3 separate regions of the Homo sapiens genome follow, and all the other regions are linked to region 2. The links are contacts of gene promoters, found by promoter capture Hi-C in human tissues and cell types (Jung and others, 2019). All regions are on one chromosome and are shown on one strand. Each heading gives the region's core, a stretch centred on a gene start or on the middle of the fragment in contact. The rest is flanking DNA. Distances are from core to core; before and after follow the strand shown. Region 1 has its middle 10 kb from the start of RND2. Region 2 holds the start of NBR1 (NBR1 autophagy cargo receptor). Region 3 overlaps IFI35 (interferon induced protein 35).

Region 1 (2,902 bases), core at 248-2,747, 140 kb after region 2:
GGGAGAGGAGCTGGGCCAGGCTCTGAGGATTTGAGGGTTGAAACTCCTTGCAGGGAGTGAAATGAACGACAATGGGGAGGCCAGTCTGGGCCTCCCAACTCCTCCTCCAGGACCAGATGGGAACTGGGGCTAGGGAGAAAGGCCCAACTGGGGCGGCGCCGGGCTCTGGGCAGAAGAGAAGCACTCAGTGAATGTGAGGAGGCTGCAGCCGTCGGCTCATTTGCATCATAAGTGATTGGTTTTCCCTGCTCGTCCCTCATCAGGACACAATGGACAGTTGTTTGCTGGCGCAGCAGATCCATTTACCAAGGGAGAGAGGAGACAGAGCACAAGTGACCGATGGGTAATAGTGTTGAAGGGTGGGCAGCCGCCTCCCCTCCCCTGTGCTCCCAGGCCACTGGGACTCTTGTTCTCACACAATGAGAAGGGACCTTAGAGAGCAAATCACCGCTTCACTTTATAGAAGAAGAGACTGAGGTGCTGAGAGGAGGTGAGCCTTGCTGTGGTCAAACAGCAAGAACATAGCAAAACTAAGCATTTTAAACTCTAACCTCTGGATCCTTTTTCTTTGAGACAAGGTCTCGCTCTGTCACCCAGGCTGGAGTAGTACAGTGGCACAATCTCAGCTCACTGCAACCTCTACCTCCCAGGCTCAAGTGATCCCCCCACCTCAACTTTCTGTGGGCCACGACACCTGGCTAATTTTTTGTAGAGACAAGGTCTCACTGTGTTGCCCACATTTTTCTCGAACTCCTGGGCTCAAGTGATCCTCCAGCCTTGGCCTCCCAAAGTGCTAGGATTACAGGTGTGAGCCACAGCACTGGGCCTGTTTGGTTTTTGTTTTGTTTTGTTTTTTTGAGATAGGGTTCCACTCTGTCATCCAGGCTAGAGTGCAGTGGTATGATCACTGCTCACTACAGCCTCACACTCCTGGTTCAAGTGATCCTCCCACCTCAGCCTCCTGAGTAGCTAGGACTATAAGTATGTGCCACCACGCTTAGCTAATTTTTATTTCTTTTATTTTTTCTAGAAACAGTGTTTCCCTATGTTGCCCAGGCTGGTCTCACCTGGGTTCAAGTGATCCTCCCACCTCAGCCTCCTGAATAGCTGGGATTACAAGTGTGAGCCACTGCACCAGGCCTGGATTCTAAACTGTCATTTGAGGGTTCACTTCGTTTCCCCATAATACCTTCTCTGTGCCCTTATTCCCATCTCTGTGGTCTCCTGTTCCCGGGGCCTTCGTTTCCATCATTCTGTCTCCTGGGTCTATTTCTTTTTCTCTGTTTCTGTTCCTCTCTGTATCTTTTCCTCTTGGTTTCCAGGCAGCTAGGATAATTACTAGACTTTTAATTAACCCCTGCCCTAACAAAGGTGGGTCTGGCATGAGGCAGCAATTTAGCAAGTGTCTTGGTTTGTTTTGGGGATAGGTGGGGAGAGAAAAATATGTGTTGGGGCCTATTATAAACCAGGCACTAAGACAGACACATAATGCACTTTATCTCATTTCATCCTTTCAATCTTGCAAGGTAGGTGTTCTTAGAGACAAAAAGGGTGAGGCTCAGAGAGGTTAAGTAACTTGTGCAAGGGCACCCAGCTAGCAAATTGTAGTTACCTGACTCCAAAACCTCTGTTCTTCCATCTCACACCCTGGCACAGGGTCTAACTCAGGGTAAGGGGCTCATTGATTTCAGGCGCAAGGGAGGCACAAAGTCACTGAAGGAGACCACTGTTTTGTTGCTGTCCTCTAGGCAGCGACTGCGTCCCCCCAGAGCCCCCTCCTTCTCTGAGCCCCTTCTGCAGCGTGGCGAAATCTCACAAATGCAAGCTTTTGCCCCCAGGGAGGTGGGGAGGCAGTGATCAAGAAAGAAACCTGACAAACCCAGACCAACCATGGGGGTCTCCCTCCTGTTAACACCCCTCCCTAACAGCCCTCCTGGTGGTTCCCTGTCTGCCCCTCCCCTTTATGGGTCAAGCCTGCTGGCGTCTGTTTCATTGTGCTGTGGGGGAAGGGGAGAGTCAGGGGTGAGTGGGTGTCTGTGTGCATGAACATAAGGCCTCCGGGTTCATTCTGACACTGAATGAAAAACTCACCAATTATTCGTCCAGTCTCATTAATATGCAGACAGACATCTGTTATTTAGGAGTCAACAGCAGAGGCATTTTCTTGTCGGGAGGGGCACTAGTGTACAGGGCTCTCTTGTCTCTCCGCTGCTAGCGGGTAGCTACTCAGGAATCATCCCACACCTCCCGACCTGGAGCCTCCCCTCTCTCTGACCCTCACTCACAGCTTTGAGGACAGCAAGTAAGGGATTGACCAGACAGAGATGGAGGGAGATCTGGGAACCTGGCTGGAAGGAAGGAAGCAGGAGAGGAGCTGCCTTGTGTAGAACAAACTGAGAACAAAACGCTAAACCCTTTCCTGGGGAAGAGAATGTGGAGTTGGGGGAGAGAGCTGTGCCAAGAGTGCCTGCCCCACTGGGAATCTCAGGGACATGACCCCTCCCCCCACACCTTCCTCAGCCTGCAGGACAAGTCTGAGTGCATCTGAAGCAGGGAGAGGGTCACTATGGCAACATGAAGTCCTCACCCAGAGACTGCAGAAAACGTAATAAGAGGAGTTCAGAAAAATGGAGACCAAGGGACCTCAATCTTTTTTTTTTTTTTTCAATTTATTTATTTTTTTTTATTGATCATTCTTGGGTGTTTCTCGCAGAGGGGGATTTGGCAGGGAGGGACCTCAATCTTTGGAGGAGTCACTAAAGCTCTCTTCAGGCCCCAAGATAGGGGTGGGAACAAGACATAACCACCTCCTGCTTTCTGTCTTCTGTCTTCCTCCAGCCTTTAAGTCCCAGCACAAAATACCCCTCCAAGAAGCCTTTCCCAACTCCCTCAGGCCCAGCTT
Region 2 (3,143 bases), core at 611-3,110:
TGGGTGGATCACGAGGTCAGGAGATCGAGACCATCCTGGCTAACACGGTGAAACCCCGTCTCTACTAAAAATACAAAAAATTTAGCCAGGCGTGGTGGTGGGCGCCCGTAGTTCCAGCTACTCGGGAGGCTGAGGCAGGAGAATGGCGTGAACCTGGGAGGTGGAGCTTGCAGTGAGCCAAGATCGCGCCAATGCACTCCAGCCTGGGCGACAGAGCAAGACTCCATCTCAAATAAATAAATAAATAATAATAAACCAGTCTTTAGAACCATAAACCTGTACTGTTTTCCACAATGTAATGCACTGCCCTGTAAAATACTACAATTAAGACTGTCATTTAAAGGCACTTTTTTGAAACCCTAAGACAATTATCCCCCAATTTTCTCCATTCTTTGTTTCTACCAAGAACCAAGTTCACCACCAAAATAATATTAGTCTCTTAACAACAATCCTGCTGACATCTAGTATTCATTCATATGAAATGTAATTATTGGGGTCCTTAAAATTTGAGAATCTTTGTCAATTCCCCAGGACCTTAGGCAAAAAATCAAGGAAATGAAGTGACTCAGTCCGCCAAAAGTGGGTATTCTGAAATATCACTTTCCAACTTCAAGAAACACACTTCCCTACTTGTGAAGGAAATGAATCTTCCTCTCTTTTTCTCAAATTACACAATTGGAAATTTAGATACTCTGGAGCTCCTCCAGCTGGTGGGCCAACTAAGAGAAAACAGGAAGTGGGAGATTCTAGCTTGGCTGGACCATATCCAGGTCTTCATAAGGAACTCTCTTTGGCTGACATGTAAAAAAATTCTTTCAGCAGGAGCATTAATCTTAAACGTGTGTAAACACCAAAGCTATGGTTAACCCTATCTGCCCCTTAGGTCTACAGCCAGTAGAGTCAGATAGCTGGGTCTTAGGCCTTCAGCTTTCATAACTGGCATTATTGTAAGTCCATGCCACTGACTCACCTTTGCTTGGCACAAGTTAGCTTTTCCTCCACGTCGATTTTTTTTTCAGCCTCAACAAAATCCCTTTAATGAAACAGACCTGGCAACCTGAGCTTTGATTACTGTCTCCACCAGAGGCCTTTACAAGCCAAGTTATCCAGGCTTTAAAATGTGTGACCTGAGGCCGGGAGCGGTGGCTTATACCTGTAATCCCAGCACTTTGGGAGGCCAAGGCACGAGGATCGCTTGAGCTCAGCAGTTCAAGCCCAGCCTGGGTTGGTCTTTGAGAAAGCAAGACTCTGTCTCAAAAAAGTGTGGCCTGAAAGCTGAGTGTTTGACAAAAAGGAAAAACAGTGCCTTTCCAAAACCGAAGGTCCCTAACCAAGGAGATCTCTTTAAGGTCTCGAAAAAACGAGGATGGGATGAGAAGGATGTGTAAGTAGTGTCATTTTTTTACTTGCAGAGTTCATCCTAGTCTTCCAGTTTTCGTTTCCTAGCACTCCATGTTCCCAAGACAGTGTCACTACCCCGAGGGCTCTCTCATTTTCTTTGCCTAGGCCCTCATTCCACTGGGGAGTCGTGGCCTTCCATCAGTAGAAGCCGGATGTTCTGACCCACAGACTCTCCAACTCTCCGGCGCTTCTCGCCAACTCGGTCCCTCTGAACATGAAGGGCTCTCTCATCCTGTCACTAAAAAGATTAGCTGTCCCGAAACACGGAAAAAGTCGCCCCTCTTCTTTGCAGGATTCCTCCCTTGAACTTCCCCAAACCCTCTTAGCGTGACGTGACCCCACCCCTAGGTAACCGCAGCTGCTTCCTTACCAGCTTCCCGCCCCCGGGGGGCGCCTGCCGGAGGCCAATGCAAGGACCGTCCGCTACCGGCTCTGCCGCTATCCCTGTGGGGTGAATCTAACATGGCGGATAAAGACAGTAACTAGTCCCCTGTTTCTCCGAGTGTTCGCCAAGATGATTGGCTCTCACCACTTGTCCCTCAAAACGACCACGCCATTGATTGGTGGAGATTGCGTCGATGGGGCGGGGCAGAAGCAACCTGAACCCGAACAACAATAACAAACATTGAGGCTGAGGGGCGGAACTAGGAGTGCGCAGATGTGGGCCAGAGCGGATTTCCCCTTCCCCAGGCAAATTCGGCGCCCACTGCGTCCCCGCAGGCCACTGACCTTAGAGGACTACTTGCCCGAGACTCGTGGGGCTGGATGGGAATCGTAGTCTTCCTAGGAGTTGTAGGTATCTTTTTTTGGCCTAGTCTCTGCTCTCAAGATAGGAGAACATAACAACACTCCAATCCATTACTGTTGACATGTATAAGCCCGCGGAGGTCTCCAATCTATCCACTGGATTTCCGTGAGAATTGTGCCCGCTTTGGTATTGGATGTTCCTCTCCATAAGACTACAGTTTCCAAGGAACAGTGTGGCCAAGGCCTTTCGTTCCGCAATGCATGTTGGAAATAGTAGTTCTTTCCCTCCACCTCCCAACAATCCTTTTATTTACCTAAACTGGAGACCTCCATTAGGGCGGAAAGAGTGGGGTAATGGGACCTCTTCTTAAGACTGCTTTGGACACTATCTTACGCTGATATTCAGGCCTCAGGTGGCGATTCTGACCTTGGTACAGCAATTACTGTGACGTAATAAGCCGCAACTGGAAGCGTAGAGGCGAGAGGGCGGGCGCTTTACGGCGAACTCAGGTAGAATTCTTCCTTTTCCGTCTCTTTCTTTTTATGTCACCAGGGGAGGACTGGGTGGCCAACCCAGAGCCCCGAGAGATGCTAGGCTCTTTCTGTCCCGCCCTTCCTCTGACTGTGTCTTGATTTCCTATTCTGAGAGGCTATTGCTCAGCGGTTTCCGTGGCAACAGTAAAGCGTGGGAATTACAGATAAATTAAAACTGTGGAACCCCTTTCCTCGGCTGCCGCCAAGGTGTTCGGTCCTTCCGAGGAAGCTAAGGCCGCGTTGGGGTGAGACCCTCACTTCATCCGGTGAGTAGCACCGCGTCCGGCAGCCCCAGCCCCACACTCGCCCGCGCTATGGCCTCCGTCTCCCAGCTTGCCTGCATCTACTCTGCCCTCATTCTGCAGGACTATGAGGTGACCTTTACGGAGGATAAGATCAATGCCCTTATTAAAGCAGCCAGTGTAAATATTGAAACTTTTTGGCCTGGCTTGTTTGCAAAG
Region 3 (2,816 bases), core at 152-2,651, 160 kb after region 2:
CTCATGAAGGCTGGGGTCCCAAGGGGCAGATTCCTGGGGAAGAGGAGGGCTGCCTGCATCACACTGGCTCTTGTTGGATGAGGGTTGGATAGCACTGGGAGCCGCATCTTTCCTTCCTCCCCAGGTGGCTGATGCCATGAAACAGATGCAGGAGAAGAAGAATGTGGGCAAGGTCCTCCTGGTTCCAGGGCCAGAGAAGGAGAACTAGGGCAAGTGGCTGTGAGACCCTAGAGACCAGCGAAGGGAGAAGTTGGGAAGCTACGTTCTGTTGGCCACCAGACTTGCATTTCAGCCTCTGTCATAATGCTCTGCCCTCCCTCCCCCGAAGGTCTCTGTGGTGATGACCGCTCTCCCCTGCCCCTCCCCGCTTCCTGACCTCTGAAGAGGTTGGGAAGTGACCATTTGGATGTCTGGGCCCTGCCAAGGCGACAGGGAGGGTCAGAGGGAGGCCGGCTGCTTCCTGCCCCCACCCTTTCCCCGGGCCTGCTGTGCTGCTTTTGTGCCAAGGTTAGCCAGTCCCCCCTGTTGTGTTCCATGTGCTTTCACCTCTGCCTCATCTTTCCTCCCGTCCCTGCCCCGCCACCTCCCCAAAGAATTGAAACGTCAGCTCAGGATATGGGGCCAATCTCTGTGAGTCCAGCATGTACCTGTCTCTCCCTAGTGTCCCTTCAGCCTGGGCTGACCAGTGCCCGCCTCTGGGCTTGACCAGTTCCCAATCTCGTCCTCTGTCCCCAACTTCTTAAGCACAATTGGGCTTCTTCCATCTCCAGGTTTTCTGCCATTCTTAACCAAGGCTGCCTCTTCCAACAGGGCGGGAATCAGACCTACTCCCCTAGGTCACAACTCTGGGAAGGATACAGAGCCCCCACCCTTCACTGAGTTCTCTGGATTTGTTCTCAGTGCCTTAGCAACGAAAACCTGTGCTTGTGTGTGTGTGGCGGCGGGGAGGGAGGATCCTGTTTCCCACCTCCTTCTCCTCCCCTGTACTCCCCAGTGCCTTCCTTGTTCTGGTGGAGCTGGGGTTTCTCTCCTCCCCAGTCCCACAACACTGCCAAAAATCTGTGTATGTGCCATTGGGTGGGGCAGCCCCAAGCCTCCTGGGGAGGCAGGGCAAAAACAGGTGCCCTCATCGTGGTCTGTGCCATGTCCCGTCTCTATGGTGGTTGAGGAGAAAGGCGGGGAAGCTTCCTCAGCCTTGCAGATATGTGTGGCATTTACTAGCCAGAGCTCTGAAAGGCAGTGCTGTCTGTTTCTTGTACTGGGACCAAAGTAAAAATCCAAGCACATTCCCCTTGCAGTTAGGGGAGGCCCTACTGCCTTCTCAAAGCAGAGAGGCAGCTTATCAAACTCAGCCCAAAACTCTGTTTACATGGGTGGGGAGATGGAGCAGGGAAGTACAGAGTGGGATGGTCAGGACCTGGGCCATTGCAACCAAAATGGGGACTTCCTGGGTAGGGAGGTCACTCCCTCTACTCACTGAGCTAGGATTAGGGAGGGTTATTGCCCCAACCATTGCAATGGGAGGTGGAGGGACAGGCTCAGCCTCCTCATTGTCTAAATGAGGCCTAAATGTGTGAAGTGCGATTTCTGCTTTTGTGTACCCCACCACCCCATTACCACAGCTGCCTTTGTGTGTTTGTGTCAATAAAAAGCCAAACCCTGGGTCCTGCTTGTTGCCTCTGAGAGTGGAGGGAAGGTGAGCTCCTGGAAGGCTAGTGCTGCCAGCAGAAGATCTGGGCTGCTTCCTGCCCCCTGCCTCTTTCCATGCCCAAATCACGTTTCCTTTCATGAGTGAAATGAGGAAGAACATCATGGCATGCAGGCTCTTTTTACTGTTCTGGGCAGTGTTTTGCAATGTGTGACCCCTCCGCACTGTTGGTGAACATACAGACCTCCTATATGGGCACCCAAGCCCAGGCCAGTGTGAGAACCTTGGCGGGGGGGTGGGGAGGATGAGAAGGGGAGGCCCCTAGCCTGACTCAGAGGTGAAGACTGCTAGGCCCTGCTGTCCTTGGGGTACGACTGTCAGGGCCTCTACCTCCCCGCCCCCGCGGGTGGGCTTCTGGAAGTGGATCTCCAGGACGTCATGCAGCTCCGGGCCATCCAAGATATCAGGAATGTTGAGCACCAGTACCGAGCGGGGAACTGGCTGCGACCTGATCTGGAAAAGGAGCCAGGAGATGGCAAAGGCTCATGGGAGAAGGGCTGGGGGCTGGGGGTAGGGCAGGCAGTGCCCCATGGGGGTATGAGGTCGGGAGGCCTGGAGAGGCTGATGGTGGGTAGGTAGGTCAGTGGGGTTTGGGGCCTCTGATCCTTCATTGGGCAAGTTCCTGGCAGGCAGACAGGTTACCCAGCCCAGCCCCTGTTCTTCACCCCTCCTGCTTACCTCAGCCTTCTGGATCTCCCCGTTCACATACGGAGAGACTCTCAGAGGGACTTGCTGCCCACCCAGTGGCACTGTGAACTGGCCGATTTGGCACAGACGCTGAGCCACTGTGGGGAGCAAGGAGGGGTGGGCCTTTAGCATCAAGCCCTCTCCTCTCCCTGCACCGTAATCTTGCACACCCTATACCCTCTCCCCTGCAGGAGGCCTGCATAGCCCTCACCTCCATCCCTAGCAAACCCCAGCATGACACTCCCTGGCAGTAGCTCCCGAACGTCCACATCGCCACCTCCGTTCCTAGTCTTGCCAAAGAAGATCTCTAGCTTGTCCAGCAGCTCCTCCTCACTCAGCCTGAGGCTGGCAGGAAATCCAGTGACCAACACCCTCCGGCCACTCAACTGGCTGGACATCTAGGGGGAGACAGCAAGGGGTG

The links. The method cuts DNA at HindIII sites, captures the fragments that hold promoters and counts their contacts. A contact is called where the count stands out against the background at its distance.
Region 1: a contact is called between a fragment that was not itself captured here and the fragment with the promoter of NBR1 in region 2, in 2 of the 25 tissues and cell types used here (lymphoblastoid cells and pancreas).
Region 3: a fragment that was not itself captured here is called in contact with the fragment with the promoter of NBR1 in region 2 in 1 of the 25 tissues and cell types used here (lymphoblastoid cells).

The regions. Positions count from the first base shown.
Region 1 is chr17:43,033,777-43,036,678 of GRCh38, reverse strand. No RefSeq gene overlaps it. Among named protein-coding and RNA genes, the nearest start is that of RND2, 10 kb to the right of the region's middle. RefSeq lists a silencer at 93-387. The HindIII fragment of the contact is 5,034 bases long and covers 1-2,902 here.
Region 2 is chr17:43,169,931-43,173,073 of GRCh38, reverse strand. NBR1 (NBR1 autophagy cargo receptor) reads right to left here and starts at 1,860. Exons shown (of 21, transcript NM_005899.5): 1 at 1,772-1,860. LOC101929767 (a long non-coding RNA gene) reads left to right here and starts at 2,671. Exons shown (of 2, transcript NR_110868.1): 1 at 2,671-2,948. It overlaps LOC124900391 (a long non-coding RNA gene), which reads left to right and starts at 2,110. Exons shown (of 2, transcript XR_007065760.1): 1 at 2,110-2,658. It also overlaps a transcript of BRCA1 not described here and the pseudogene BRCA1P1. RefSeq lists enhancers at 1,720-1,829, 2,150-2,259, 2,510-2,559, 2,830-3,039. The HindIII fragment of the contact is 14,047 bases long and covers 1-3,143 here.
Region 3 is chr17:43,013,453-43,016,268 of GRCh38, reverse strand. It overlaps IFI35 (interferon induced protein 35), which reads right to left. Exons shown (of 7, transcript NM_001330230.2): 5 at 2,607-2,793; 6 at 2,387-2,493; 7 at 1,813-2,161. The coding sequence ends at 1,970. It overlaps VAT1 (vesicle amine transport 1), which reads left to right. Exons shown (of 6, transcript NM_006373.4): 6 at 125-1,662. The coding sequence ends at 208. Among named protein-coding and RNA genes, the nearest start is that of VAT1, 7.5 kb to the left of the region's middle. The HindIII fragment of the contact is 4,481 bases long and covers 1-2,816 here.